6 separate regions of the Homo sapiens genome follow, and all the other regions are linked to region 3. The links are contacts of gene promoters, found by promoter capture Hi-C in blood cells and fetal thymus (Javierre and others, 2016). All regions are on one chromosome and are shown on one strand. Each heading gives the region's core, a stretch centred on a gene start or on the middle of the fragment in contact. The rest is flanking DNA. Distances are from core to core; before and after follow the strand shown. Region 1 overlaps LINC02522 (long intergenic non-protein coding RNA 2522). Region 2 has its middle 17 kb from the start of GCNT2. Region 3 holds the start of ELOVL2-AS1 (ELOVL2 antisense RNA 1). Region 4 overlaps TMEM170B (transmembrane protein 170B). Region 5 overlaps TMEM170B (transmembrane protein 170B). Region 6 has its middle 6.0 kb from the start of LINC02522.

Evidence for each region. The method cuts DNA at HindIII sites, captures the fragments that hold promoters and counts their contacts. A CHiCAGO score of 5 or more calls a contact.
Region 1: a contact is called between a fragment that was not itself captured here and the fragment with the promoter of ELOVL2-AS1 in region 3, in 7 of 17 cell types (naive B cells, M0 macrophages, erythroblasts and 4 more). The highest score is 9.0, in naive B cells.
Region 2: a fragment that was not itself captured here is called in contact with the fragment with the promoter of ELOVL2-AS1 in region 3 in 4 of 17 cell types (naive B cells, erythroblasts, megakaryocytes and 1 more); the score reaches 6.4 in naive B cells.
Region 4: a fragment that was not itself captured here is called in contact with the fragment with the promoter of ELOVL2-AS1 in region 3 in 1 of 17 cell types (endothelial precursors); the score reaches 6.3 in endothelial precursors.
Region 5: a fragment that was not itself captured here is called in contact with the fragment with the promoter of ELOVL2-AS1 in region 3 in 1 of 17 cell types (fetal thymus); the score reaches 5.4 in fetal thymus.
Region 6: a contact is called between a fragment that was not itself captured here and the fragment with the promoter of ELOVL2-AS1 in region 3, in 2 of 17 cell types (erythroblasts and naive B cells). The highest score is 8.5, in erythroblasts.

Annotation. Positions count from the first base shown.
Region 1 is chr6:10,470,181-10,473,837 of GRCh38, forward strand. LINC02522 (long intergenic non-protein coding RNA 2522) reads right to left here. Exons shown (of 4, transcript NR_183333.1): 2 at 693-1,855; 3 at 49-550. Among named protein-coding and RNA genes, the nearest start is that of LINC02522, 10 kb to the right of the region's middle. The HindIII fragment of the contact is 2,650 bases long and covers 1-2,581 here.
Region 2 is chr6:10,502,867-10,506,390 of GRCh38, forward strand. No RefSeq gene overlaps it. Among named protein-coding and RNA genes, the nearest start is that of GCNT2, 17 kb to the right of the region's middle. The HindIII fragment of the contact is 2,740 bases long and covers 34-2,773 here.
Region 3 is chr6:11,041,891-11,045,516 of GRCh38, forward strand. It overlaps ELOVL2-AS1 (ELOVL2 antisense RNA 1), which reads left to right and starts at 1,868. Exons shown (of 5, transcript NR_038964.1): 1 at 1,868-1,935. ELOVL2 (ELOVL fatty acid elongase 2) reads right to left here and starts at 2,415. Exons shown (of 8, transcript NM_017770.4): 1 at 2,338-2,415. The coding sequence starts at 2,340. RefSeq lists a silencer at 2,311-2,510 and enhancers at 2,945-3,445, 3,446-3,626. The HindIII fragment of the contact is 4,245 bases long and covers 679-3,626 here.
Region 4 is chr6:11,562,615-11,566,250 of GRCh38, forward strand. It overlaps TMEM170B (transmembrane protein 170B), which reads left to right. Exons shown (of 3, transcript NM_001100829.3): 2 at 3,052-3,222. Among named protein-coding and RNA genes, the nearest start is that of TMEM170B, 27 kb to the left of the region's middle. The HindIII fragment of the contact is 5,292 bases long and covers 1-3,636 here.
Region 5 is chr6:11,579,007-11,582,374 of GRCh38, forward strand. TMEM170B (transmembrane protein 170B) reads left to right here. Exons shown (of 3, transcript NM_001100829.3): 3 at 1-3,368. Among named protein-coding and RNA genes, the nearest start is that of TMEM170B, 43 kb to the left of the region's middle. The HindIII fragment of the contact is 4,660 bases long and covers 1-3,368 here.
Region 6 is chr6:10,486,404-10,489,534 of GRCh38, forward strand. No RefSeq gene overlaps it. Among named protein-coding and RNA genes, the nearest start is that of LINC02522, 6.0 kb to the left of the region's middle. The HindIII fragment of the contact is 1,360 bases long and covers 816-2,175 here.

The DNA.
Region 1 (3,657 bases), core at 7-2,506, 570 kb before region 3:
ACAGATTAACATTGCATTTGGTCAGTTTATTAATGGGGATGCGCTTACTGGGGAATCTGGATTTCATGTGTCCACTCAGGCATCTAGAATTGGCTGTAACAATTTGATGGATTCAGTGGGCAAAACTTGGATTCAACGGTTGCCTATATCCAATAAAGTTAAGTTGTCAGACTTTCCTGGTGTGATGTCAAGGGAAGAATCTAAAAGCAAAAGGGAAAAGGAATGCTGCAGTGGACAGAAATGTTAACCAGGAGCCACCCCCGCCCCAAACTCACACTCTGAGATGGCCCAGAGGATGTTCTCTTCACTCTGTGTTTTGATATGAACCATGAAGTGTCCCAGATATTACCCCACTTGCACAATTATGTATTAGCATACGTGAATATGACAGAAAACACATGGCACCTGGGTCAGGGAAAACTATATTGATAATCTTTCCTTGAAGAGGATCTTGATGTCCGCCTCTACTAGGTCCACCACTGTGCTGCTCAAATCTACTTCATCTACATCTGGGGAGCAGCTCCTCCAGCCTTCCAGTGGGCCTCTCTTCCTGGAGGAAATGTAAAAGTAGATGGCTTAGAAGCACAAGCTACAACACCTGCTGCTGCAGCTGGTCTCAGGGCAATGACTGATACTTTTCATTTTCCTCCCCTAATCCCCAGTCTAGATTCCCCCTCACCTCTGCAGCTTACCTCCTGGCTTATCCAGTGGTGTGACCCTGGTCCTCATTCCCATGGGGTCTGAACTCTGGCCACCATGCCCTTCCCAAAAGTGTTCCTGCACTTGTCTGTCATCACAACTGGCCACGGGAGTACCATGGGTTGCAAAAGTGGATCAGTGGTGCCACACGTCTTCCCTACCCTCATAGTGGAACCACAGCCTTTCTTCTCCTGCTGATCAGGGTCAATTAGCCCTGCCAAGACTGTGACTCTTCTCTTTTATTGCTGGTCCCAATTATAAGAAGCCCAAAATCCCCAGGCAGCAGGCATAGCTGCAATGTAGTGGAGACTTTTGCTGTGTCCCCTGATAAAATTATGCCCCCTTTTGACCAGGATTTCTAGCACTGCAGAAAGAGAGGCTGCAGGGACAGGAAGCAAGACACTTCTGCTTCATCCCTTGGTTCATGACCAATATATTCTTCCTACTGGGGAGCCATCTCCTTATCAATGCTGTGTGATTCAATGTGTATGTGCCATCCTGGAGATGATGTCTCATTCTCATGGAGTGTTGCCTCTAAGCTGGTACTTTAACGGGGCCATCTACAAGTTATTCCAATGCCTTATAAGTCTGTAGCTTCTGGATGATGTGACAGGTGATACAGTCAGTTGACATCATGGTCATAGGCTTGGCTGGTCTGACTCAATCCTGGTGAATCAACATTCCTTCAACCTTCAAATAGTGGTACCAGAGGAGGCTCCATGGCAGGAAAGGTCAACCTATGCCTGCAACACATGCCTATTCCTCTTAGAACAAATCTCTGTCTTCCCAGAATAGAAACAGCCCAGTGTAGTCAACTTGCCACAAAGCCATCAGTTGGTCTTCTTGTGGAATGGTGTCATATCAACAGATCTGCATCGGGCTCCCTTGCTGAAAGTTTTGACATTCCACAGCAGCAGTAGCTAAATCACCCTTGGAAGTTGTTTTTCTGCTCACTCATGTGGCTGCTGTCAGTTGGGAGCTAAGCTGGGATACCTCGGTTCTGCTCCCCATGGCTGTTTTCCCCACATGGTGTCTTGTCCTCCAGGGCCTCCTTCTACAGCAGGATAGCCTTGCAGAATCGGGGCAACAGGTTTGGAAAGAACAAGCCCAATGTGCAAGCACCGATTAAGCCACACTTGCATCATGCTCTGGTGTCCTATTAGCCAAAGCAAGTCACATGAATGAGAATGAGCTTTTCCTCAAAGCATAAGAAACTAGGCCAAAGCAAACAACAAAAGGATCTTAGACAGACAGACACACACACACACACACACACACACACACACACACACACACAGAACTTCTCTTTCTCTCCTTTTATTTATTTACTTGACCACATCATCTGCTAAAACGTTAAAAGCAAATAAGATGCATTTTCCATTTTGTGATTTTAGAAAAATTTACATTATTACAATAGTAGTACATTCTTGCCTGTGAGTGTAGGTGATTGATTGTATGCAATGCAGTTCTGCTCAGAGCATGAAAGAGGCTGCAGGGAATTACAAAAGCAATTTCATTTACAATAGTATCAAAAAGAATAAAATACTTGGAAATAAACTTAACCAAGAAGACAAAAGACTGTACGCTAAAACTTTAAAACATTGCTGAAAGCACTTAAAGAAGACACAAATAAATGGAATGACATCTGTGCTCATGATTGGAAGACTTAGTTTTGTTAAAATGTCAACACTACCCAAAACAATCTTAATGTAATCATTTAGCAAATGATTATGACTATGATTTCATATTTGTTGGGGGCATAAGAAAATCATATGCATTATGATTACATTAAGCAAACAATGTAATCCCTATTAAAAAATCCAATTAAAAATTTATCCTAAAATTTATGTGGACTCTCAAGGGACCCTGGATAGCCAAAATAAGCTTGAGAAAGAAGGACAAAGCTGGAGGCATCACACTTCCTGATTTCAAAATATATTACAAGACGAGAATCGCTTGCCAGGAAGCGCAGGTTGCAGTGAGCTGAGCCTAGATTGTGCCACTGCACTCCAGCCTGGGCAACAGAGCAAGACTGTCTCAAAAAAAATTTTATGTATGTATAAATTTTATGTATACATAAAAATTTTTATACATACATAAAATTTTTTAGACAGTCATATATGGTAACAATAATCAAAACAGTGTGGTACTGGCATAAAAACAGACACATAGACCAATGGAATAGAAGAGAAAGCCCAGAAGTAAACCCTTGCCTATATGATTGAATGACTTTTTACATGGGTGTTGAGACCATTCAATGGAGAAAGGGGTCTTTTCAACAAATAATATTGGGAAAACATGAATGTCCACATGCAGAAGAAGAAAGTGGGACCCTTACCTTACACCGTTTGTAACAATTAACATAAAATAGATCAAAGACCTAAATGTAAGGCCTAAACTATAAAATTTCTAGAAGAAAACATAGAGGGAAAGCTTTACAATGACATTGGATTTGACAATGATTTCTTGGTTGTGTTACCAAGAGCACAAGCCACAAAAATAAAATAGATAAATGTTTTGTTTGTTTGAGACAGGGTCTTGCTCTGTCACCCAGACTGGAGTGCATTGCCATAATTATGGCTCACTGCAGCCTTAACCTGCCAGGCTTAAGCAATCCTCTCATCTCAGCTTGTCGAATAACTGGGATCACAGATGCATGCCACCACACCTGGCTAATTTTTCTGTGTTTTAGTAGAGGCAAGGTTTTGCCATGTTGCCCAGGCTGGTCTCAAACTCTTAGGCTCAAGCAATCCACCCACCTCAACCTCCCAAAGTGCTGGGATTACGGGTGTGAGCCACCAGGCCCAGCCATAAAATAGATAAATTATACTACATTAAACTTAGAAACTTCTCGGCATCAAAGGACACAATCAACAGAGTGAAAAGGCAACCAATGGAATGGGGAAAAAATGTTTGCAAATCATACATCTGATAAGGTGTTAATATCCAGAATACATA
Region 2 (3,524 bases), core at 154-2,653, 540 kb before region 3:
ATGCGTCCTGATTACTGAATTGCTATCTAATTAAGCTTTCATTTTGGTTTAACAACTTACTTGACTTATTCCCGATAATGTATACGCTAGAATGTTCCTTGATTCTGAACTTAAACACCAGTGGCATGAAAGAAGAAGGCTACTGAGAATTGTAAACCTTCATCCTTGGCCCTGCTCTTGCTGATTCAGTATCCTGCAGAGCTGAGCTTCCTTCGGCTTTTTCACTCCTGTGTCAGGCTCTCCTACCGTGCTCTCTTCTGAGGTTCACATTCACCATTATTGGATTCTTCTTGTTGCTGTTATTGTATCTTTATTTTCTAATTGTTATAAAAATTTGTCCCTGAACCCCAATTTGGTGCAACTTATTGTTCCCAGGTTTGTTTGTTTTTCTCCCTGGCCTGAACCTCATCCACTTCTTTGCATTTCTTTTGGCATATGTGTCTTTTAATGGCATTTTAATCTCTTTTTAAAACCTCAATATTTCAAAGGCATTTGCTTATTATGACAAATTCAAATGCTATAGGAATGTATAAATTTACAAATTAAACTTTTCTCCAAGTCAAAGTGGGAACTCTGGGTCTGGTCAGAACACCTGATTTTTTTAAACATGCCTTCATTCTATTAACTCAATTATCAAGTTAGCTTCCTCATTATAAATAATATGCAAGGCCAGACACGGTGGCTCACGCCTGTAAATCCCAGCACTTTGGGAGGCCAAAGCAGGTGGATCACTTGGGCTCAGGAGTTCAAGACTAGCCTGGACAACATGGCAAAACCCCATCTCTACAAAAAATACAAAAAATTAGCCAGGCATGGTGGTACGTGCCTGTAGTCCCAGCTACTTAAGGAGCTGAAGCAGGAGTATCTCTTGAGCCCAGGAGGTCAAGGCTGCAGTGAGCTGTGTTCACACGACTGTATTCCAGCCTGGGTAGCAAAGCAAGACCCTGTCTGAAAAGAAAAAAAAAAGATATACATATATTTTCAGACATTATATAATTCAATTAGACATTACCCTACCAAAGAGGACTGTATTGTCAAACAAGCTCACATAGGGCCACTCGTGGTGGCTCACACCTGTCATCCCAGCACTTCAACTTTGGGAGGCTGAGGCAGGAGGATTGCTTGAGCCCGGAAGGTTGAGGCTTCACTGAGCCATATTCATGCCACTGCACTCCAGCTTGGCTGACAAAGCAAGACCCCGTCTCAAAATAAAAAAGAAACTTAGCTAAAAAAATGAGTTTGGGCAACACTGGAAGAAATAAAGCCAAGCAAGTTTCTTTACCGCTTCGCAGATCTTCTTCTGAGCTAGTTTAAATTGTCAACTTTCAAGGTGGGGGAGGGATTAGCCCTTTTCAAATAGCCTTTTTGTATGAGTAAATCCATAATAAAAGTTGATCAATAACCAGTAGACATTTAAACTTCAAATATAAGGGAATAAAACAAACACTGATTTTAGACACTGTTTGAATTAATCAAGCCCGGGCTCCACTTTACAAACATCTGTCTCTGAAGGTTATTAAATTTGGCGTTGGCCTGTGCACTTCAGTGGCCAGGAGGTCAGAAGGCAAGGGAAGGCCAGAAATGACTGCTTCCCCCCACCGAACCCTCTCCTGGATCTGGAAAGAATATGTAGAAAAAAGGATAGTGTTTTAATTTATTCTTGATTAATCTCTTAATTTCATTAAAGTGAATTAAGTTTTTCAGAACACAGAAAAGAACTTCATAAAAATACCAGATATATTTTTTTCTTTTCATGAACATAAACTGCCCAGAAGTCTCTGGGTATTTCTTTCAGGAATTTCAGATCTCCTGCCATAGTTTGAAACATGGTACTGTCTCAGGATGTGGTATTTGGTCCACTGTGATACTCCTAGAGCAGATGCAGTTTCCGCTTTGACATTTCTGGATTTCAGAAATTAGCTCCACACATTGAGACTGAACAAAATCTTTTCCCTGCTTATAAAAGCAGTGCAAGCTCTGGAATAGAGTAAAAGTAATAAAAATAATCCATAATGCTACAACTCAGTGAGAACCACTGTTAACATTCTTGTGTATATATCCCAGTCTTTTTATTCTGTGTATATGTGAATGTATGTGTGTGCATCTGTGTAGGAAGAAATGTGTCTGGGCTGGGCGTGGTGGCTCACACCTGTAATCCCAACACGTTGGGAGGCCTAGGTGGTCAGATCACCTGAGGTCAGGAGTTCAAGACCACCCTGGCCAACATGGTGAAACCCCATCTCTACTAAAAATACAAAAGTTAGCTGGGCGCAGTGGCAGGCACCTGTAGTCCCAGCTACTAGGGAGGCTGAGGCAGGAGAATGGCTTGAACCCGGGAGGCAGAGATTGCAGTGAGCTGAGATCATGCCACTGCACTCCAGCCTTAGCGACAGAGTGAGACCCTGTTTCAAAAAAAAAAAAAAAGTATCTGTTTCTCACCCCTGTATTCCAAATACTCAGCACCTATCTACCTCAGTCCTTGGTATAGGAAAGGCATTTCTTAAGTAGAACATGAATAAATATTAGGGGCCAGGCATGGTGGCCCACACCTGTAATCCCCGCACTTTGGGAGGCCAAAGTGAAAGGATTGCTTGAGCCCAGGTGTTCAAAACCAGCCTGAAAAAGATGGTGAGACTCTCCCCCCCGAAAAAAAGGATCACAATGGGTCCGTTCTTAACCACTTTCAAGTATTCCATTGGAGCTGCCTGATCTCCACCTAGCGATGGTCTAGTACAGTGAGAACTCCCAGATGTGCCCCTTCTGGTGAGAGGCAAGCTTCCTGACAACGCCATGCTGAGTGTTTGATTGGCCGGCCAGACCTGTTCATAAAGCATTTCACAAACCGTCCTTTCTTACGCAAACTAGCTGGGAATAAACAGGCCCCCTGTGGGTCTTAGAACTAAAGCAAATATGAACCTCAAAGAACAAAGGAAAATCATTACTGGTGGCAGGAATATGAGAGTGCTTCCACAATACTATTTCACAAGTCTTTTCTACATGGGCTTCAGTCACAAAGGTGGTTTGACATTCACTGAGCAGCATGGGAACAATTCTAGAACACTTATTCTATCCCTGAGCTATTTCTGGGATAAAAATATTGTTAAAATACGGCTGGGCACCGTGGCTCATGCCTGTAATCCCAGCACTTTGAGAGGCTGAGGCAGGCAGATCACCTGAGGTCAGGAGCTTGAGACCAGCCTGGCCAACATGGTGAAACCCCATCTCTACTAAAAATACAAAAGTTAGCCAGGTGTGGTGGTGTGTGTCTATAATCCCAGCTACTTGGGAGGCTAAGGCAGGAGAATCACTTGAACCCTGGAGGTGGAGGTTGCAGTGGGCTGAGGTCGTGCCATCGCACTCCAGCCTGGGTGACAGAGCGAGACTCTGTCTCAAAAAAAAAAAAAAAAAAAAAAATATATATATATATATATATATATAAACTATATATGTAATTTTAACTATATGCATATATAATATTCTTGACAAAAAGAACACTATTGTTTATTCTAATAAAACAAACACAC
Region 3 (3,626 bases), core at 618-3,117:
ATATCTTACAAGACAGTTCATATTGGACATGTATTGAAAAGGATGTCTCTCTGAACTGACCCACTAAGTTATTTATAAATTCAACCCCCTAACTTTCCTACTCCCTGCCCATTTTTTTTTTAAAGTAATACGATTTCAGCCGGGCATGGTGGCTCATGCCTTGTAATTCCAGCACTTTGGGAAGCCGAGGTGGGTGTTGATCACTTGAGGTCAGGAGTTAGAGACCAAACTGGACAACATGGTGAAACTCTGTCTCTACCAAAAATACACAGATTGGCCTGGTGTGGTGACGTGCGCCTGTAATCCCAGCTACTCAGGAGGCTGAGGCACGAGAATCACTTGAGCCCAGGAGGTGGAGGTTGCAGTGAGCCAAGATTGCATCACTGCATGCCAGCCTGGGTGACAGAGTGAGACCCTGCCACAAAAAAAGAAAGAAGAAAAAAGTAATACAATTTGGATTTGGGTATTAAAAAAAAATTCCTCTGAAGACCCACAGTTTCTGAGAAATACTTATCTAAACAGGAAGCATCACACTTGGGCAGGATAAAGCTTTCAAGAGCTTGCCCTTGATTTTAGCTCTTTTAGGTTAACATTCCCATGACTTTCCTATTCAGCTAAAGAGATTTCCTTGGACTTATTCCCTTACTCACTACAATTCCTACCTATACTTTAGGACAAAGCTTCAGAGCCCAAAAGGAGAGCCAGTTGGTCCTAAAAATGCTTTGTCCACTCTGATGCCAAGGTGCAAAGAGCATGAAGCGACAGACAAGGCATAAGAGATAGCCGCCTAGACTCGTCATTGAAGGCTGCCAAAATCGGGTCCCTCCTGTCGGGAGTATCTCCCTCCTCCCAAACTTCACTTGAGACTCTCATCATTACAAATGTCAACTGCATAATCTTTGCAGTTACTCCCCACCTGTGCATTAACATAAAGCAGCTTGCTTTATTGGGTTAATTCAAAAGAGTTATCAAGTACCTACTGTGCGCCAGGCACTGCTGTAGGTACTAGAAATCTAGCAAGCAATGAACGAAATGACAAAAATCTGTGTCTTCCTGAAACCTATATTCTGGTAGAGGAGACGTTCAAGAAACAAGCTAAAGAAACAAAATATGCAGTACGCTAACTAATACATGCTCAAGAGAAGACAAATGAAGCAGGCAAGGGGAATATACACTGTGGTGGGCGGGGTAGGAAAGGTTGGAATTTTAAGATTAAGTGGTCACACATAATCAGGCAGATGGTACGTGCCTAAAAGGGTAGCCAGAGCAAAATCAGATGGAGTGGGGAAGAGAAAGGAAGTGCGCTTATTTTAACAAGTCCTGAAGTGGAGAGAAAACCCTACGGGAAGGGGGTGAGGCAAACACTGAATATGGACCACTGAAGACAAACGCGGATTTCACATTTTGCCTAAAGACCAGTCCTTTGAGGATGGCACAACAGATGTTCTCCCTTTGTAACCAAAGAACCAGGCTCTGCTACTAAAACTGTCAGGCAGTTCATCGGACACGGGTGAACACACACACACACACACACACACACACAGCTTACTGTCAGGCAGTTCATCGGACACGGGTGAACACACACACACACACACACAGCTTACTGCCGAGGAGAAAGAAGCGTTACTAATCCAGAGTGGAGGACTGGCCTGGGAAATCGGGCAGAGAGAGGAGTTGTCGGAAAGAACACACCAGAAGCCCCTCCGAGCCCAGACACTGATAGAAACCCAGCCGCTTCCCAAGCCAATCTGCAAACCCAGGAGGCACCCACGAGTGCACAGACACACCCCCGGGGTGCAGGCGCGGTGAAGGGAGGAGAGGGGCAAGAGCTTGACCGTTAGGGCCCGAACCCCAGAACTCCCGAGGCAGGGTGTGTGCCGCGCGCGGGAAACGCCGTTCTCCGCTCCAGGCGTCGGCGGGCGGTGGCGAGAGCAGGTTCGGGGGTCCGGAGGGTCGGAGGGTGGGCTGCGCGCGGGAATGGCCGCCGCGAAGGAGGGGCGGCTTCCTCGGGCATCCCGGGCGCCCGGCCCCGTGCATGCAACAGGGGACTGGGCGCGAGCGGGCGCCTCGAGGTGCCGGGGCGGGACCGGGGAGAGGGGACCGAGACAAAGTTCCCGAGACCCGCGGGCCTCGGGCCGACCCGCGCGCCCCCGGCCCAAACGCTCAGCTCCCGCTCCCCAGGCCCGCGCGGACCCGGCCCCTCCGAGGGTAGCGGGTTCCAGCGGCGAACCCGCAGCGCCCGCGCCGGCGCCCGCTCGGCCCTTTCCCGCCCGGTGCGTGGGTCCAGGAGAGAAAGAAAGCGCGGCGGTGTCGGTGGCGGCGCGCGGCCCCACTCACCATGATCCGCAGCGGCTGTGGCGCGGCGACCCGGGCGGGCGGCGATGCGCTGTCCAGGGTAGCCGGGTCCCTCTGCCCGGCGCTATCTCGGCGCCCGCGCCGGTTACCCCCACCCACACCCACGCCCGGCGCGCGCACACCCGCCCGCGCCTCCCCGCCCCCTCGGGCTCGCGCCGCCGCCGCGCGGCGCTCCGAGCCTCGGGGCCGTTTCGTCCCCGCCCCCTCTCCCACAGGGGCCTCGCCGGCCGCCGCGCCAGGAGGGCGCGCGGGGGAGGGGCGCAGGGCAAGTGAGGCGGCGCCCCCCGCCCCTGCGGCCTCGCGCGCCCCCTCCTGGGCGACCGACCTCGCCCTCGCGTCCGCGGCGTCCCCTGCCGGCCGGGCGGCGATTTGCAGGTCCAGCCGGCGCCGGTTTCGCGCGGCGGCTCAACGTCCACGGAGCCCCAGGAATACCCACCCGCTGCCCAGATCGGCAGCCGCTGCTGCGGGGAGAAGCAGTATCGTGCAGGGCGGGCACGCTGGTCTTGCTTACAGTTGGGCTTCGGTGGGTTTGAAGCACACATTAGGGGGAAATGGCTCTGTTCCTGCAGGTTTGCGCAGTCTGGGTTTCTTAGGTTTAGGGGGTTGGGTGGGTTTCTCTGGGGGTGCGGTGGGAAGCGGATCAGTTCGGATAACGGCCCTGAGCAAGAGTCTCTGTCCCGCTCCCGGCCTGACGCGGGGCTTCCAGCGGACACGACCAACGGTGAGCGCACCCTCTTCACTGTGAACAGAACGGTGGCCTCCTAGAGCCTGCGCTTCTAGTTACTTTAGTTGTGTGTGTGGCCCAAGTGAAAGACGTCGAAAAAATTGGACTTGCCTGAGTATTACATGAACTTTCTTCCATTTCTCCCTCAAGCATGGGAAGTTGGCGGGCGTGGTGGTTCCCTCCTGTAATCCCAGCACTTTGGGAGGCTGAGGCAGGCGAATCACTTGAGGTCAGGAGTTCGGGACCAGCCTGGGCAACATGGCGAAACCCCGCCTCTTAAATAAAAAATACAAAAATTAGCTGGGTGTGGTGGCCTGCGCCTGTGATCCCAGCCACTCGGGAGGCTGAGGTGAAGGATGGCTTGAGCCCTGGAGGTGGAGGCTGCAGTGAGCCGAGATCACGCCACTGCACTCCAGCCTGGGCGACAGAATGAGACCCTGTCTCAAAAAAAAAAAAAAAAAAAAAAAATGTTTACCACATGTGAGGCTCATGTGGTAAACATGTTTATTGGGGTTGAGAGCAGCCCGTGTGGCTGTGCACGGAGGTA
Region 4 (3,636 bases), core at 88-2,587, 520 kb after region 3:
AGTTGTAAGAACCAATACATAGAGAGCTTATGTACCCTTTATCCAGTTTACCCAATAGGAACATCTCAGAAATCCACAGTATAATATATCAACCAGGATATTAACATTGATGCAATCCACCAACCTTATCCAGATTTTGCTAGTATTTCTTCTACACTTGTACTCTTCTCTATTGTGTATTTAGTTCTATACAATTGTATCACTTACATGTATATCCACCACTATAGTCAAAGAAGAAATCCATTACCACAAAGATCACTCATGTTGCTTTTTAATAACCATACCCTCCTTCCTTTTTAAGGAGTTTTTGTTTCGTTTTAAAATTCTTAGTCATTTATGGTCTTGACCTAAGTATTTTTCAAATTTATATCATGCTTTTAAATTTTTTACTTTTTAAAAAAAATTGGTAAAAACATAACTGATGAAGCATACTCGCTGTTGACTGGGGGCAGTGGCTCACGCCTGTAATCCTAGCACTTTGAGAGGCCAAGGTGGGCAGATCACCTGAGGTCGGGAGTTTGAGACAGCCTGACCAACACAGAGAAACCCCATCTCTACTAAAAATACAAAAATTAGCCAGGCATGGTGACGGGCACCTGTAATCCCAGCTACTTGGGAGGCTGAGGCAGGAGAATCGCTTGAACCTGGGAGGTGGAGGTTGCAGTGAGCTGAGGTTACTCCACACCAGGCCCCCCTCCCCGCCAAGAAAAGGCACTCACTGTTTTCTCCTCCCTCACACAGATCACTTCTGTGACAAGTGATGTGTGGTTTTTTTCCCACACCAAGCAGTTCTCTAGGATACCAACTGGGTGTCCTACAGTTCAGTTCAGTTCTGACATTTACCTGGTGTTAGCATCCAGTCCCGCAGGTTAAAGGCACAGTCCCAGAAACGACTCCCATTTAGACACCAGTAGAAAGTCTGCGCTTCCCATATTTGTGACTGACTGTAAGTCGGGGGTTCCCATTGACCCCTCCTCAGGTTTCATCATTTGCTAGAACAGCTCATAGAACGCAAGGAAACACTTCACTGGTTATGGTTACTGGTTGATTTTAAAGGTTACAACTTGAGGCCAGGTGTGGTGGTTCTCGCCTGTAATCCCAGCACTTTGGGAAGTTGAGGCAGGAGAATTACTTGAGGCCAGGGGTTCTAGACCAGTCTGGGCAGCACAGGCAGATCCTGTCTCTACAAAAAATATTTTTTAAAAACTAGCCAGGCGTGGTGGCCCACATGTGTAGTTGTAGCTACTGGGAAGACTGAGGCAGGAGGATCACTTGATCCCAGGAGATGGAGGCTGCAGTGAGCTGTGGTCACGCCACTGCACTCCAGCCTGGGTGATGGAGCAAGACTCTGCCTTAAAAAAAAACAACAAAATCATATGGTATTCATTTGTGATGATTTATTTCACTTAGCATAATGTCCACAAGGTTCATTCCTGTTGTAGCATGTGATAAGATTTCCTTCCTTCCCTTTTAAAACTGAGTAATTTTTCCGTTGTATGTGTACCATGTTTTATTTATCCATTCAGGGACTCTTGAGTTGCTATCACCTCTTGGCTATTGTGAATAATACTGATAAACATGGGTGTGCCAATATCTCTTTGAGATTCTGCTTTTAGTTCTTTTGGGTATATACCCAGAAAGTGGAATTGTTGGATCATATGGTAGTTTTGTTTTTAACTTCTTGAGGAGCCTCCATACTATTTTCCACAGCAGCTGCATCATTTTACATTCCTACCAACAGTAAATATCTATGTTTAATGATATTTGGATACATAGGTTTTGATTCATCCATTTTAATTCTTTAATGACTATTTTATTGACTTTTCTTTTACAATTGATAGTGACTACCTAGCCCAAATCACAGATGAGATACTTTGTATTATAGAATGTTTGCATATCAAGGATGATCCTCAAGGTGACATCTAAATATTTTAGAGTCAGCTCTTTCAGGTATAAGTGAGAGAATCCTTATCTGAATAGTTTAAGTAAAAAGAGGGATTTTATTAAATGGGAACTGGGATGTGACATTGAATCTAAGGATGGTAATGAGTCAGGCCTTAGAAATAACTCATTAAGGGACTTGATTCTCTCTTGTCTTTGATGGATCTTTTTCCTTCTTGTACTGTGGCTTTCATCATGCGACGATGAAGTAGCTTCACAAATCTTGAGCCTTTCTGCTTCAGCTACCCAAAGAGCAAGGACACTCAGTTGGTCCCAATCCAGAAGTCCCAGGGGAAGGGAACGATTGGCCCAGCTTGGATCGATTGCCTTTCTTTCCACCCTCACTACAGTATGGTCAGGGAGAAGGAGTCAGTGCAAGGACATCTGTGGGAACTATATGGAGTGACTGGGAGGCAGTCGGGTGGCCAGAAGGAAAGGGAATGAATGTGAGACAGAGAATGAAGAGTGTGCTTGTCCACTGTCTCTTAAGCTGAGATGTCAGTGAACAGTCGATTGAGGTCACAGTGGGGAGATAATATTGGAGCTTGAAAAGTTCTGGATAAGGAACACTAAGATGACTAGAGGCAAATAATTTATCTGACTGATTTTTTAGTATACCAAGTTCAGGGCCACAAGGAGAAAATGACTGAAATTCTTAAAGATAAAAGGTAAAAATCATTGACTGATTTCTGGAATGATTTGAATTAGAATTACAAGGTAGTTAAAAACATTCTTAACACTGCTATTTAGGGTAGAAAATAAAAAATTCTATTTCAAACAGTAATTTTATAATTCTAAGAAGTTTACAAATATATCAGGGGTTTAATATAAAATTGATGGATGATAGCTATGTAATAGGGGCATTTAGAAGAAATTAGAGTATAGTGTTAACCTTTTGAAGCCATGGAAGGAATTATTTCCCCATCAGGCATCAGCGATGATGATAAAACTTATAATGTATTCAGTGCTACTTGTGTCAGGCACTGTGTGAAGCATTTTTCTATGTATTATGTCATTTAACCTCCCAAACCATAGGTGCTCACTGTTTGTTAAATTGAATTTTCTAAGTTGTGTTTCAACAGATGATTAATACTTTGCTTTTCCTTTCAGAGATGTGGTACTGGATCTTCCTCTGGGCTCTCTTCTCTTCTCTGTTTGTCCATGGTGCTGCAGGAGTGTTGATGTTTGTGATGCTGCAGAGGCATAGGCAGGGAAGAGTCATCTCTGTCATTGCAGTCAGCATTGGATTTCTGGCTTCTGTAACTGGAGCGATGATTACCAGTAAGTTGATTTTCTTTTGTCTGAGGATGTAAGTTTGTATACACTTACCATTTTGGTAGCTGTGTTCTTATTATACATGTAACATTAGTGAGATCTTTTATGTAGATTATTTTTCAACACTTAACACACTCCATCTAGAAGATAAAGATGAGCTGATTTATTCATTGAACAGACAAGTCGTTGTAATTCTGCTGTGTGAAGAGTCCTTTTACAAGGTTTTGAGGGAAATAGAAAAATTCATAAAAATTGGCAAGAGGCAAGGCAGGTCAATGGGAAAATTCACAGTGATTATAGTTTCTGCTTTCAAGTTGCTCATTTTCTAGGAAAAAACAAAGGCATAAAAATATGTCAGTGATAATTATCATAAGCAAAAGTATAGCCCTGAGGTCCTTAATGTCATCTGCCTGTGACTAC
Region 5 (3,368 bases), core at 166-2,665, 540 kb after region 3:
TAAGAAGTACAAGAATTACCAAGATGGAATTCTTTACCTTGAGTACACCAAGAGCTAGCAAGATGATTTTTAAATCCTAAAAAGTTTGGGACAACATTTTGCTTCCTGATTTTAGTTGAGAGTTAGCCTGTTATCCCTCCAAATTCTCATTTTCCTGGTTCATCCACTAAATAGAATTTCCATAACTGAGATATCATGGCTGTGACATAGTGAAGAGAATACGAGACTCCAAGCCAGCAACACAGATTGAATTAAGACTCTGTCACTTGTCAACTTTTTGACCTTGAGCAAATCACTTAACTTCTCTGAGCCTCAGTTCATACTCCGTAAAATGTGACTAATACCTCATGTAGTTATTGTGAGGATTACGTGAGATTGTTTATGAATGGCAAAGCAGTATGTATTTCACAGTAAATGATCAACTGATAGTCTCTAGAATTTTTTTAAATTACATTTTGCAATTGCATTACCAATTGAATATGTTGTTTTGTAAAATTCATCAATTTTGTTTCATTTCTATATTTTCCTTACATATGCTTTAGGAAAGAAACTAAAAACGTTTTCTTATAATCTTGCTTCATCTCCTTTTCACTTTTTCTTTTTAAAATCAGCAGATCTTTAAGAACCTTTTGTGAATTGGTGGTGGTGGAAATGGCCAGTGCAAGCAGGATTAAATTAGGAGTTCTGTTGACCACTGGTTAAAATAGGAAAAGGGTAGAGAGGTAGTCAGCCTTGACTCCCTTATCTATTCCCACTTACTTCCCTTGGATTCATTCAGCCATGTTGATTTATTGACTTTCTGCTATTTGCTAATTATTCTTCTTGAAAAGTAAGAGCGATATATAACCCTTCAGTCTTCTATATGTCTGTTTCTTCTGCCGGCCCTGGGCCCTTGGCTCTACAGTGTAGTGCCAATTCTGTAGAAAAATAGAACGATATTCAGTGTCTACCAAGTTCTTTCTTCCACAGGCCAAGGGTGCTTAAGCCCTAGCTGTTATTTTGTTTCTTTTATTTATTTATTTTTTGAGACGGAGTTTCGCTCTTGTTGCCCAGGCTGCAGTGCAATGGCATGATCTCAGCTCACCGCAACCTCTGCCTCCCAGGTTCAAGCGATTCTCCTTCCTCAGCCTCCCGAGTAGCTGGGATTACAGGCGTGCACCACCATGCCTGGCCAGTTTTGTATTTTTAGTAGAGACAGATTTCTCTATGTTGGTCAGGCTGGTCTCAAACTCCCGACCTCAAGGGATCCACCCACCTTGGCCTCCCAAAGTGCTGGGATTACAGGTGTAAGCTGCCGTGCCCAGCCTATTTTTTTTTAACTTCAAATACTATTATTTTAAATTTATGTTCATTATGTAATTCAGGGAGTAACGATGCCTGGAGCAATTTCTGAAATATTCTCAAACCACTTCACTCTTGACACTACAGATTTTTCTCTCAGTCTCAATCAGAATCTCTGCAGTCATTATTTGTTTTTAAGATGTGAGGGACGAGGAAAATTACTGAAGAAATTCTAGCAGATTTCGATTGCAGAGAAATTTGGTAACACTTTTTGGGTAACTGGGTAAATTACTATTTCTTTTAATAATCGGGTGAAACTCTGAATTGTTAAAACGGACCAATAATCAAATGGTTTTATAATCTTTCTTAACTTCCCGTCCTTGTTATAACATCTTGGAAGAAGACTCTTCAGGATAAAAAGGATATTATTTGATTAAAAATTATAGCATTTGGAGAGGTAACACACAAAAACAAAAACATATTTGACAAAGCGCCCTACATCCTGTGTTTTGTTAGGACTAGAAACTATACTGGATGAGTATGTATACTGCATGTTTACACATGCTGTGTTTCTTTATATGTGAGGCTTCACTGACCACCGTGCATTTTGAAATTGTATTGCATTTTGTGTGTGTGTGTGGTGACAGGTTTGCTCTTCTCACTTAAGGAGCTCTGGTCTGTGTAGGCAGTACAGTGTTGTTAGGGAGGTTGCTGAATTATCTAAAAATGTATCCATGAATTTGGGGGAAATAATGCTTAATATCTGAAGTATTTTCAGTAAATGTGGAGATATATCAGATAATACTTTTAAATTAGTGGAAACACATTTCTGAGTGAACTGAGCTATGAACTATAATCATCTCTTCCCCTGAGTTTAGGGAAGTTGTTTTCACATTCTTTACATTTATTGCACATATACTGAACTTACATAATAACTCTTCCCTGATTTTGAGAACGAATTTAGCAATTTCCTAAAAATCTTCCTCCTCTTTCCATACAGATGTCGTATGTTATAGTTTAAACATATGTACAATTTGTTGATAGAATCCAAGGAGCTGGTTTAGGAAAGAATACTCTTAACCCCTACAGTTATGCAGCTCTAATCTTACTGAAAAGTAAATACTTTAGGCAAGTCAGGAGAGCATGAACCTCATACATACATTTTTACGATTATGTACTGCACCCACATGTATCTACTCTTGGTAGTAACATGACTCCACCCTTTTTGGGAATGTATTTAGGTGGATAACTGAAACGGAAAAGCAGTTTGACACAAATACACAGAAAGAGGAATTGCGGTGCATAATCAATCGTCTGAGTCCCATAACTGTAACACTTTTTCTCTTATAAATTGGTAGTTCCTAAAAATCACCACTTTAAAAATTTTATTCTGTCTTGCTGAATTAAGCAGAAATCACTTTTTTTAGAGCCTTGTTTAAAGGAACGTTAACTCGAGAGTACTACTGATGATGACGCTTCTCTTGTTTTTAAAGTATTTACACATCATTGTTAAGTATTTTTGGAATGGAACATTTTAAAGTTTTCTCCATAGAAAGCAACATAGTGGCACTTGTTGAGTAAATGATCATAAAAATGACTTGCTTTTAATAGCAGATGAGTTGATAGTTTAACTGTTGACACTTTCTTAATGTTTTTGATGTTGGATGCATTTACAATGGAAGAATTTTTTTGAAAGATTTGGCCCTCTCACCAATACACACATTCAGACTTGAGCTGCACGCATTTAGATGAACAAATAGGAAATTCACGGTATTTTTTGTTTTAGCCATCCAAAATTCATAGGATTCTACCAAAAATATTAGCCCCTGACTCTAGTTATTCTGAGATGAGGGAATCAACTTTATCTTGAAAGTTAACTAGCTAAAATGTCTTTATTTAAATAGCAAAAATATAGTTTACCTGACAAGTATTAAAAGTCTCACTTTCAAATTGTGTTAACTCTCAGACCACTGATGAATCTTTTGGTAAATCACAGGCAGATTTTAAAAGCTAAATGAAGCCTTAGTGCCTTGAAAGTTAAGATACTTGTGCAAAATGGATTTAGCAAGATTCAGGATTGGCACCAG
Region 6 (3,131 bases), core at 246-2,745, 560 kb before region 3:
CTCCTGAATAGCTGCACCACAGGCATGCCACCATGCCTGGATAGTTTAAAACTTTTTGTAGGCCAGCTGCGGTGGCTCATGCCTGTAACCCCAGCACTTTAGAAGGCTGAGGCAGGCGGATTGAGGTCAGGAGTTCGAGACCAGCCTCACCAACATGGTGAAACCCTATCTCTACTAAAAATACAAAAGTTAGGCATGGTGCCTCCTACCTGTAATCCCAGCTGCTAGCAGAGGCTGAGGCAGGAGAATCACTTGAACCCAGCAAGCAGAGGTTGCAGTGAGTTGAGATCATACGCAGTCCAACTTGGGAACCAAGACCAAAAACTCCAAAAAAAAAAAAAACCAACACAACCACACACACACACAGAAAAGACACACTCCAGGGACAGGGACTCAGACTTTCCAAATAGTCTTCACAAACTTATGCTTTTCCAGGGCTGCTGGTGTGTCCAGAATTGGTCAGTGCCCGGTTTCACCGACTTCAAAAATGAAACCATGGGCCCTTAACAGTGAGTATTAAATTTCTTATAAGCGGCATGTCTGGAGCTTGCTCCTTCTAATGTTCCAATGTGTTCAGTTTTTTTCCTTTTGGTGGATTATGTAGTCTTCCTTGCTCAGAAGTGAGGCTACTAACTTTCACAGTGAATGTTATAGCTCGTAAAACTGGCACGTCTGGAGTTACGTCTCAGTGAATTTGTGGGCTCACTGGCTTCAGAAGTGAAGCCACAGACCTTCATAATGAGTGCTACAATTCACAAAAGCAGCACAGACCTAAAGACCAAGCAGAAACAAAACGAGGGAGGAGGAGGAGAAAAAGCTTCCACACAGCAAAAGTAGGTTACAGCTTATTACTACTGGAAGCTCAAGGCAGCCTGCTTTTATTCTCTCATCTGGCCCCACTCACATCCTGCTGATTGGTCCATTTTACAGAGAGCTGATTGGTCTGTTTTGACAGGGTGCTGATTGGTGCGTTTACAATCCCTGAGCTAGACACAAAAATTCTCCATGTCCCCGCTAGATTACCTAGATACAGAGTGTTGACTGATGTATTTACAAATCGTGAGCTAGTCACAGAGTGCCGATTGGTGTATTCACAATCCCTTAGCTAGACATAAAGATTCTCCAAGTCCCCAACAGATTAACTAGATACAGAGTGCCGATTGGTGCATTCACAAACCCTGAGCTAGACACAGGGTGCTGATTGGTGTGTTTACAAACCTTGAGCTAGAGACAGTGCTGATTGGTGTATTTACAATCCCTTAGCTAGACATAAAGGTACTCCATAGTCCCACACCAGACTCAGGACCCAAGCTGGCTTCACCCAGTGGATCCTGCACTAGGGCCGCAAGCGGAGCTGCCTGCTGGTCCCGCGCTGTGCGCCTGCACTTCTGCACTCCTCAGCCCTTGGGCAGTCGTATGGGATCTGGGCGCTCTGGAGCACGGAGTGGTGCTCATCGGGGAGGCTTGGGCTGTTGGGGAGGCTCAGGCTCGGCGGGCTGCAAGTCCGGAGCCCTGCCCCGCGGGGAGGCAGCTAAGGCCCGGCGAGAAATACGAGCACAGCAGCTCCTGGTCTAGGTGCTAAGCCCCTCACTGCCCCGGACTTGCGAGCCGGCGGCCGCTCCGAGTGCGGAGCCCGCTGAGCCCACAACCCGCCCGGAACTCGCGCTGGCCCGCAAGCGCTGCACGCAGCCCCGGTTCCCGCCCGGCTTGTCTCTCCACACCTCCCCGCAAGTTGAGGGAGCCGGCTCCGGCCTTGGCTAGCCCAGTAAGGGGCTCCCACGGTGCAGTGGTGGGCTGAAGTGCTTCTCAAGCGCTGCCAGAGTGGGCGCCCAGGCCCAGGAGGCGCTCAGAGCGAGCCAGGGCTGAGGGCTGTCAGCACGCTGTCACCTCTCACTGGTACAGCCCCCTTATCTCCAGGCTTTTTCCCTTCTCACCCGTTTCGCGTGCCTTTTAAGATGCGGGATTTTTCTTCTACCTGACTTCAGACTTGGTGACCTCTTTGTTAATCCAAGTCCTTGATCTCAGGAAACCCCCAAGATCTCCATTCACTCTACTCATCCCAGGCTTAGGTACCTGACCCCTCAGTGCCAGCTGTGTGACTGTTTCCTGAATCCTACTTCCAGTCTGTGGTCTCATGTTGCTTCTACCGTGCTTTAAAGGACTGCCAATGTGTGAAGCTTTTTGTATTTGATGTGTTAATGAGGTTGTGAGTTTTATTCTTTGCTCAGCCAAATGAATTTGTAAAGAGAATTATGTATTAGAGAATTTGTAAAGAGGATTATACACATATATATATGAAATACACATATATATAATCCATGTATATATACATATGATCCATAAATAATCTGTATATATATGTTTAATGAGTAACAACTATCTATTGATGAAAATGGTGGAAGTTATGTAAGATGACTTGTAAGGAGCATCCCTTCCCTGGGAGAAATCAGCACTGAATGTCTCCTGGGAGGTAGCACATTTTGATGCTGCTGCTGATGATGATGATGATGGAGAAGAGGAAGATAAGCATCTCCATTGCTTTTTATGTGCTAGGTACATAGTCTCATTTGCTCTCACGTTAATCCAGGAAACTAGGCACTGTTTTGGTCCCTGTATTAGCTAGCTTGGGCTGCCATAACAAAATACCACAGACTGCATGGCTTAAACAACAGAAATTTATTTTCTCATAGTCTGGAGCTGGAAGTCCAAGATCAAGTTACCAGCAGGGTTAGTTCCTGGTGAAGGCTCTCTTCCTAGCCTGCAGACGGCCATCTTCTCCCTGTGTCCCCACATGACCTTTCCTCTGTGACATGCTCCTGGTGTCTCTTCCTCTTCTTAGAAAAACACCAGTCCTATTGGATTAGGGCCATGCCCTTATAACCTCATTTTACCTTAATTACCTCTTTACAGACCCTATCTCCAAGTACAGTAACAGTCTGAGTTACTGGGAGTTGGGACTTCAACAGATGAAATTTGGGAGGACACAGTTCAGTCCGTAACAGTCCATCTCTTAGGAATGATGAAACTAGACTGAGATGAGATATACACCTTGCCTAAGATGATAGTAAAGACCAAAGAACAGGAATTTGAAGCCAAATTTGCTCTCATGGCCTCTTAGCCACCAGACCACC